Linked DNA regions of Homo sapiens: regions 2 and 3 are each linked to region 1. Evidence: promoter capture Hi-C in human tissues and cell types (Jung and others, 2019). All regions are on one chromosome and are shown on one strand. Each heading gives the region's core, a stretch centred on a gene start or on the middle of the fragment in contact. The rest is flanking DNA. Distances are from core to core; before and after follow the strand shown. Region 1 holds the start of DPYSL5 (dihydropyrimidinase like 5). Region 2 has its middle 12 kb from the start of CENPA. Region 3 overlaps DPYSL5 (dihydropyrimidinase like 5).

Evidence for each region. Contacts are between HindIII fragments. The study calls those that stand out against the background at their distance.
Region 2: a contact is called between a fragment that was not itself captured here and the fragment with the promoter of DPYSL5 in region 1, in 2 of the 25 tissues and cell types used here (IMR-90 fibroblasts and hippocampus).
Region 3: a fragment that was not itself captured here is called in contact with the fragment with the promoter of DPYSL5 in region 1 in 9 of the 25 tissues and cell types used here (H1 embryonic stem cells, bladder, hippocampus and 6 more).

The regions. Positions count from the first base shown.
Region 1 is chr2:26,846,642-26,849,713 of GRCh38, reverse strand. It overlaps DPYSL5 (dihydropyrimidinase like 5), which reads right to left and starts at 1,582. Exons shown (of 13, transcript NM_020134.4): 1 at 1,460-1,582. The HindIII fragment of the contact is 13,507 bases long and covers 1-3,072 here.
Region 2 is chr2:26,796,171-26,799,242 of GRCh38, reverse strand. No RefSeq gene overlaps it. Among named protein-coding and RNA genes, the nearest start is that of CENPA, 12 kb to the right of the region's middle. The HindIII fragment of the contact is 9,087 bases long and covers 1-3,072 here.
Region 3 is chr2:26,883,798-26,886,869 of GRCh38, reverse strand. The region is part of intron 1 of DPYSL5 (dihydropyrimidinase like 5); the gene reads right to left. Among named protein-coding and RNA genes, the nearest start is that of DPYSL5, 37 kb to the right of the region's middle. RefSeq lists an enhancer at 770-819. The HindIII fragment of the contact is 5,290 bases long and covers 1-3,072 here.

The sequences.
Region 1 (3,072 bases), core at 333-2,832:
GGTGGCCCTGGTTTGTCGTCGGATGGACACCAGGGTCGGCTATTGTTCTCCGGGTCTCCCCGAAGGGAGATCCGCCTCCCTGGCAGCACCTGCTGCTGGGCAAAGCCTTTCAGCTCCTCGAGAAAAGGGCGTGCCGTGGGCGCCGCGGAAGATCACAAAACCCTAAGCGAGTCGCTACCGGCTGGTTTCAAGCCTGGAGACAAAGCTCCTCACCAAGCCAGCCCAGCCCGGTCCCGGATCTGCCATCCTGGGTCCCTAACCCCGGTCCGAGGGCCACGCCCAGCCGGCCACCTGGGCCGCGGGGCCCCGCGCCTGGAGCTGAGGATCCTCGGGCCCGAGACCGCCTCTCAGCTGCTTGCCCCTCCCTCCTCGGGAGGCTCCCCTTCCCAGGAGGCCCCCCTCCCCCGCACAGCGCGGGTCTTCTCCTCGCTCCCGTCCTCCCTCCTCAAACCCAGGCGGCCTCCACCCGCCTGCATCCCTCCTCCCCTCCCCATTCTTCAGCAGAACCAGCCTCGCCGGGCGCCACCTGCACCGAGCTCCTTCCCTCGTTCTTCGGACCCGCCCCCGCCCCTTCTCTTTCCTCCTCAAACCCTAGTTCCCACTCCCTGCTCCCCGAGACCCACTACCTGTCCTAACCCAGCTCCCCAGCCTTCCCCATCCCCATCTTTTCTCAACCGAGGCCTCCCCTCGCCCTCTCCCGGCTTCTCTCCAGCTCAGACTACAGCCCCGTCCCCAGGCCCGGGGCGTCGACGTCGGTGCCCGCTGAGATCGATGCTGCAAGGCGGGCTCCCGCGCTGGGCTCCAGCCGAGGGACCCGGCTCGGCGCCCGCTCCGGGCTGGGCAGCCGCAGGAGGCCTTTGTGGCTCAGGCGGGAGGCTCGGAGGCGGCGGGCGAGTCCTCTGCAGGCGTCCGCTCCGTTAGCCGGGCGGTGGAACAGACCGCCGGGTCGGGTCCAGGCTGGGCAGATCCCAGCTCGGAGGCGAGAAGGACGGAGGGTGTGTATCTGGGTGGTGTGTGGGACCGGGGACAGCGCAGATCCTGGGACCGGCAGGACTGGCCCCCGGCCAGAGGCGCCCCCGCCCAGCCCTCCAGCGGTCCACTGCACCGCGCCCGGCTAGGAAAGCGGCCCACTGCGTGCTAGGCGCGAAACCCCTCGGCCGAGCCGCCTCCTCACCCCAGGGCTTTGCAACCCCGCGAGCACGCATTAAACGCTTACTATGAGCAAGGCCCGGCACGGCGCTTCGCGGGCGTACAAAGAGGACCCCAAGAGCGCCCCGGCTTAGCCCCGATGGCCACCTCCCAACCCCAAACCACACCTCCCGCCGCGTCCCCTGCGGCCGGGCCCCAGGCTCACCCGGCTCCCCGCCCTTTTGTGCGCCTCACGCAGAAACAGAAGGGGGAGAGGAGGATGTCCTAGCCCGGGAGGGGTAAGCCCACCGACCCCCCTGCCATCACCCACTCCTCCGAGATGCTGCGGCCGCGGGGGCCCGTGGCTCGGTCCGTCTCCGTCTCGCCGCGGCGCCGGAGCTGCGGGTGCTCGGGGCGGCGGCGGCTGCACGCGCGCTCGCTCGGGGGCCGCCTCAGCGCGCCCAGCGCGGGAGTCCAGAGTGGGGAGCGGGGGAGGGGCGCGTGTCGGGGGCTGGGAGCGGCCTCCGCCAATCACCGCGCGGCCGGCTCCTCCCGCCGCTCCCCACCTCAGCTAGCAGGTTAAGGGGAGGCGGGGACAGGCGGCGTCCCGCATCCTTGGCGCCGCGCGCCGCCGCCGCCTGGGGACTACAACTCCCGGCAGGCCCTGCTGCAGGGCCGGGGTCCGAGAGCGGACGGAGGGCGCGGCCGGAGAACTCACCGACCCCCCTAGCACCCGGCTCCGCGTTCCCTCGGGTTTCCATGGCGACTCAGGACACCACAAAGCCTGGACGCGCTGAGGCACGGGTCCCCAGGGAGGGCCGGGGGCGGTTCCGGAGGACACCCCGCCTCCCCTCCCCCAGCTGGATCCCACCCCAGGGGCTGAAACAATGCCGCGGCCGCCTCTCCCGGGCTGCGGCCGCGCTGCCCTCCGCCGCAGGACCCCGCCGAGGCCGCCTGGTTCGCGCCAAGACCCGCTCCGACGCCCGCGGGATTGCGGGATGCAAAGGGCCGGGTGGGCGTTATAGGAAAACTGTTCTCATGAACAAAGTGGACGGCCACTTGGGGCCACCGCAGTTCGCATCTGCACCCGGGGAGGTCTCGAACCCGGAGTGCGTTCTCTCCACTGAGAAGATTTTGCCCAGCGCCACGCGGGTGCTTCCCTGTCCAGAGCGCTCAGGCCCAGTGCCTGTCTTATTTCTGGCTTCTGTCAAGGGACAGCGAAGCCTTTGGAAATTATTTATAACCCAATTTACATTCGCTTCACCTGTTTCTTCATGTTTAAATACATACATAATTTACCAAAATAAACAAATCTAAAAAAGGAGAGGAAGGATCATCCCCGGTTTGTCCCACCTCCCTAGCTAATCCCGGTTCAAGCCTTTGCCATTGATCTGTGTTATTTTCTGCAGTTGTAATAATAGTTTGGATTAGTCATTTGCCTCTTTGCACTTAATGTCACTCCAAAGGCGTTGCGATGCGCGTTAAAATGCAGCATCAAGGACCTCCAAGCTGCAGCTGCAGAATCCCTCCCTCCCCGGGCTCCCCGGCGATCCGGTGGGGAGAGGAGTCCCCTGGCAGCCATGGCCTCGTGAGGTGGTTCTCTTTGCAGGATACTTTCAAACAAAATGGTGTTCACTACTCCGGGGGCGTGGAGGGGGTCCCCTCTCCCCATCTCAGCAAAATCTACCCGGGCGCAGGACCCGCAGAGCCCGCCAAGGCGGGGTTCCCTGCCGTCCTTCCCCAGAGAGCTTAGGGCCTGGACCAGGCCAGGCTGGCCTTTGAGGGATGCATTTCTGGATTACCCCACCCCTGAGTCTGCACTCCTTCTCCCCTTCCCAACTCCCGCCTGCTTGGTAAGCAGAGAGCAGGGAGCCCCCAGAGGAACCTCAAAGCATCCCTAACCCAGTGCAGCCCGGGATGTGGCTGTGAAAACTGCTCCAGCTT
Region 2 (3,072 bases), core at 164-2,663, 50 kb after region 1:
ATTGAGCTGTAAAATTGTAATCTGTATACATTTGTGTTTTTGGTATGTATGTTATACTTTAATTAGAAAATCTTTTAAAAAGAATGGAGCTTTTCAGTTCCTGTAAACAGCATTAAAATAAATCCAAAGAATATAAAATAGAATAAAACTCTAATGCTGCTCAAAGTATATTACTAGGTTGGTGCAAAAGTAATTGCGGTTGTTGCCATTGAAAGTAATGGCAAAAAAAAAAAAAAAAAGTAGGTGCCATCTGGCTTTTAAAAATTTGTAATTGTGACACAGTGCGTCATATGGTATGTAGGGAGAACTCTAACCATGTTTTTCCTCACTCTCACAGCACAACAATCATCCATGCAGAAGATTTCTGTGACCAAACGTTGGAGGTGATTTCCCCATACACCAAGCAGTGGACACCAGCTGGGTGTCCTCTAATTCATTTCTGACACTGTCTACCCAGAGATGGCATCAGATCCCACACGTTGAGGGTTCAGTCCCCAAGACTGCCCACCCACCAAAACCGGTCACAAGTCTGGGCCTCTAGGACTGGCTTCAAGTTGGGGTTCCCATGACCCCCTCTTTGATTAATTTGGTGGAGTGGCTCACAGAGCTCAGGGAAACACATTTACCAGTTTGTTACAAAAAATATTACAAAGGATACAGATGGCTGGGCGCGGTGGCTCACACCTGTAATCCCAGCACTTTGGGAGGCTGAGGCGGATTACCTGAGGTCAGGAGTTCAAGACCAGCCTGGCCAACATGGCGAAACCCCGCCTCTACTAAAAATACAAAAATTAGCCGGGTGTAGTGGCCCACGCCTATAATCCCAGCTACTTGGGAGGCTGAGGCAGGAGAATTGCTTGAACCTGGGAGGCGGAGGTTGCAGTGAGCCAAGATCGCGCCACTGCACTCCAGCCTGGGTGACAGAGTGAGACTCTGTCTAAAAAAAAAAAAAATGAAAAATAAAAAATAAAAAAAATGCATGAAAAACATAAAAAAAGGAAACAGATGAAGAGACACGTGGGGTGAGGTATGGGGAATGCACACAGAGCTTCTAAGCCCTCCGTGGGGGGTGGGGGGTGTGGGGGGCGCCACCCTCCAGGAACCTCCCCGAGTTCAGGTATCGGGAACCTCCCTGAACCGTCCTCAAGGGTTTTTATGGAAGCTTCAGGACCTCCGCATTCTTTCCCCCAGGGTATAGAGGGAACCTCTCTGGGTAGGATCTTAAGACCCACAATCTGAAAGCCTGAGAAAGATTAGAGGCCTGTCTTGGGGCAGGTGAAAGGAGGGCAGGAGAAGGAGAGATTCTGTTTCCTGAGGCCTAACACATACCCAATATTACAACAAAAGAACTAACAACGGCTATAGCAGTTATGAGCCCGGAACTGTGGACGAAAACCAATGTCTATCATAACACCACATGTGGTATAGTAGACATCTGTTATTTTTGTCTGCCCTGTCTACATTCTCTCTTACCTGTTAAGAAGCCTCAAATTTCCTTGGGAAACCACTTGTATTAGTTTCCTATTGCTGCTGTAACAAATTAGCAACAACTCAGTGGCTTAGATAAAACACAAATTTATTCTTACAGTTCTGTAGTTTAGAAGTCTGACACAAGTTTCGCTGGGCTAAAAATCAAGGTATCGGCAGGCCTGTTTTCTTCTCTGGAGTTTCTAAAAGAAAATCCGCTTCCTTGCCTCTTCGCTGCTAGAAGCCACCTAGACTCGTCAGTCTGTGATCTCTCCCTCCATCTTCAATGCCAGCAATGTTGCATCTGCCTGACCATTCTCCTACTCCTATCTCTAACACACTTCTCTCTCACTCTTCCATTTTTAATGGCACTTGTGATTACATTGGGCCCACCCAAAATTCCAAGGTACTCTCCCCATTTTTTGCTTTGTCCTTTTTTTCTTCTAAATCTCCCTATTTTAATGTCAGCTGATTAGCACTCTTAATTCCCCTTTGCCATGTGACATGCCAAATTTACAGGTTCTGAAGGCCTGCCTGAAAGTGACACTAACAGAAGCAGCAAAGGGTGAAGAGAGAGACCAAATCTCATGACTTTGTTACAGCCCTTCGATTTGACTGTAGCGAAACCAGAAATGTCTCTGGGCTTTTCAGTTATATGAACCTTCTCCTCTTAAGTCAGTTTGAGTTGGGGTCCCCAAACTTGCAAATGAGAGTCTTGATTGTTATATATGACAGCATGTGTTATGTTTGATGTTGAATACATTTAAGTTATTTTTGTTTTATTTTAATGGCAATAAGTAATGATGAGTATGGGAATATCAAGAGACACATCAAACTTCAACTTCCAGTAATGGTAGAAAAGGTCATTGGGACCACTCTCCTATCAAAGAAAACTGAAAAAGTTGGAGATCGCACCACTGCACTCCAGCCTCGGTGACAGAGCGAGACTCTGACTCAGAAAAAAAAAAAAAAAAATCCATACTGAAGACACATCAAAATGACATTGCAGAGCCAGCCGGGCATGATACAATGGTCAGAGTTGGGGATCCTGACTTTGCTCAGCGGCAGTGGTACAGTTCAATGCAATGGTGGCAGGGCTATGCTTCCAGCAGAGCAGCAGTGGGGGTGGGCACTGGGAGCTTCCTGATCTTTGGGCAGCATCCTCTTCTCTTTGGCTCAACCAGCCTTCCTGACATTACTATAGTCAACCCCTTCCACCAAATCCCTTTTTGCTTAAAATATCTGGAGTTATTTCTGTTTTTTTTTTTTAAGTGAATGCTGACTGATTGGAATACTATAAAAAAGAAACATTACCAAAATAAGGAGTTAATTGGATATTAAAAACATGAAATCAGAAATAAAAAATTCAATTGAAAGGTTAGAAAAGAATGTTGATGAAATCACCCTGAAAGTAGGGAAAAACAAAATAAAAAAATAAAACAGGGGCGTGGTGGCGAGCATCTATAGTTCAAGATACTTGGGAGGGCGAGGTGGGAGGATTGCTTGAGCCCAGGAGTTTGAGGCTGCAACGAGCTATGATTGCTCCACTGCATTCCAGCCTGGGTGACAGAGCGAGACCCCCCTTTCTCTCAAAAATAAATATGG
Region 3 (3,072 bases), core at 260-2,759, 37 kb before region 1:
AAAGAGTAGGCTGGCATTTTGCAGCCTTCTCAATGGGAGAGCCATTCTTAAAATGGAGTTGTGGAGGATGCTGGCACATAAGGCACCCTGGGGTCACTCAGGGAAGGGATTCTCTTTGAGTTGAAACATGCCAAATCAAAGGTTCAACAGAACACAAAAACCAAAGGGGAGTTTGAGATGAGTGGGAAATGCTGAGGGTTTAAGTTAATAAATTTAAGTTTAAAAAACTAAATGGCTAAGTAGTAAACAGTAAAAACTTAACTAATATTAAAGCACAGAATAATTTTATGATTAATTCATAATTGATTTATCAACTATTGAGTAGATTTAAAATAATATTTATTAGTTTGCAAAATTGTATAATTAGTAGTTACTTCAGAGGCGATATTTTGTTCCTTTTCAGGTAAGTAGCTGCAGCTTAATATCATTAAGTGCATTTTTTATAATTTATTTAGACAGAAATAAAATATTTATGACCTACATGTAAGGCAGGTCATAATGACACAGAGACCTGTGAACTCAGCATGTCATTACTGTTTAAGTCTCCACACCTCATTCATCTGACCATGTCCTACTTCTCAAAGGTATCTAGTTTATATGAATTAATGACTAATAGCAATTAGGTGACAAGCAAAAAAGAAAAGGTCACAGCTGTTTCCACTCCGTGACTACTTCTCCCGACATCCAATCAAACTTTACCTGCTCAGTGACTGAGCTTTTCACAACCCCCAGTTCTCTACTTTCTGAAGCAAACAGGAAACTGAAAGTCTAGCTAATGAGGGAGCGGGAGCATTTTAATACCATCCGAATGCCCACTGGACCATTCTACTGGGTTCCACAGGCAGCACACACTCAACCTGTCCAAAACCAACTCCCCTGTCCCCAGTCACCCCATCCAGAAACCTCAGACTCTTCCCAGATTCCTATCCAACCCAGGCCAGGGTCGACATCCAGGAAGACTGCTCTGAGAGGTGGTCCTGATTTGGATTACCTGGGAGTTTTGTGCAAAATGTTTTGAGGGATTCTGGAAGTAGAACCCAACCCTGGGGCAAGGAACTGAGGAGAGCAGAAGGGCAGGTCCCCTTTCTTCCATCTGGGCCTCAGCCATCTCCAAAGGCTAGTGGAGAACCTGAATGGCCTGGGACTGGCACAGGAAGGACTGATCAGGCAGAGCAGTCAGAGGCTAGAGAGAGTCTCTGTCTAATGTTACATCCACCATGAGACACCCTGGGTCCTTGTCCACAGCCACAAACATATTTCCATACCAAATTGGCTAGTGAGGAGGTCTCTGAATGTCCCACCAGGCCCTTTTTCCATTAACCCAGGGGCGGGGCAGGATCAAGCCTATAGATGGCAGGTGCCATTTTGGGGGAGGGCTGGACTGGGGCGTTTGTACCTGGGGACCATCTGCACCAGATCATGAAGCATCCACATCTGGAAAACTGCTACCACCTTTGTCACTGCACTGGAGAGAAGGTAGAATCGGAACAAGTAGGTCAGGGAGTGGGCAAGACTATAGGTAAGAGCCCAGCACCAGAACATCCTCTTCCGAGTGCAGGAGTGGGTACGGGGAGGGAAATACCATCTGCATTGGCCAGCGTCATGGGTGTGAATATGGTTAACAAGGGCTTGCTCCTGAGACAGGTTTTTTTTTATTTTGTTTTGTTTTTTGAGACAGAGTCTTGCTCTGTCACCCAGGCTGGAGTGCAATGGCACGATCCGAGCTCACTGCAACCTCCACCTCCCAGGTTCAAGCAATTCCCCTGCCTCAGCCTCCCGAGTAGCTGGGATTACAGGTACCTGCCACCACGCCCAGCTGATTTTGTATTTTTAATAGAGATGGGGTTTCACCATGTGGGTCAGGCTGGTCTCTTAACTCCTGACTTCAGGTGATCCGCCTGCCTCAGCCTCCCAAAGTGCTGGGATTACAGGCATGAGCCACCATGCCCGGCCTCCTGAGACGGTTTTTAAAAGAAACTGACACAAGTACAGATCAAGCTTGGGCCCCAAGCAAGCAGGAGTTGAATGAAACAAATAGCTTCTGGGAAGGTGTATATAAATCCACAGGGATGATTTCTTAACAGGCTAAGATCAAGTAAGAGGTTTTAATCCCATGAGTTCATCTGAGTTGGCCCGGCCCCACGTGGCTGGACTTAATGAACAAGGACCATCAGTGTGCAGAGGGCAAAAGCTACATTGCAAAGGATTAGCTGTGAGAGGGTGGTAAGAAATGGGAGCTGCTGACCACTTGTTCAGTGAGATTAGTTCAAAGGCACAGAAGAGCTAAGGGGCAGTTGTCAGAAGCCAGAGCTGAGTGTGTGTGTGTGTGTGTGTGTGTGTGTGTGTGTGAGATAGGACAAGCTTAGCTGTGCGTTGATGTGTGTTCACGTGCACCTCCCAGCCCAAGTGTGCACAGCACCAGTCTTGGGCGTTCAAGCTGAAGCCTGGCTCCTTGTAAGTGTTGGCTGACTCCCTGAGGCCAGGAGGCTTCATTACTTGAGGCCTGGGCAGGCTGAGGACCCTCAAAAGTAAGTGTGAGTAAATCCCACTTCCATAAGCCCAGCTCCCGCAGGTCCTGGAAGAAGGACAGACAGGTGTACACATGGGAGACAAGGACTCCTGACTCCCGATTGGGGCTTTAGCTGGGGAAGGACAAGCGTCTGTGACCAGAGGAGGCACCACACCACCACCAGCACCTCGCCCACCCGGCACCGACTCCTGGCAGATAACTCAGCCCTGCTGTGCTTCCCGTGCTCTTGCCAGCTGTCTCCAGGCCCCAGAAATAATTCCATCATCTCCCCTGGAAGGATGGCAGCTGCAGCTCAAGGGTCTCCAGCAGCTCCTGGAGTGGCTGCTTCCTAGAACAAGGGCCAAATGCTGGAAGAGGGCTCACACCCACTGCCAGGAAACGGGGCGGGGGCTCTTCTCAGCTGGAGACCTCAGGTGTGGGCTGGGGAAAACAGGAGGAAAGGATGTATTTTCTTAACCATGAAAGGACCACAAACCCGGGCTACCTGATGAAACCTAGATTCAGGGTAGAAATTGAATGAGAATATAAAACTACTTTCTTCT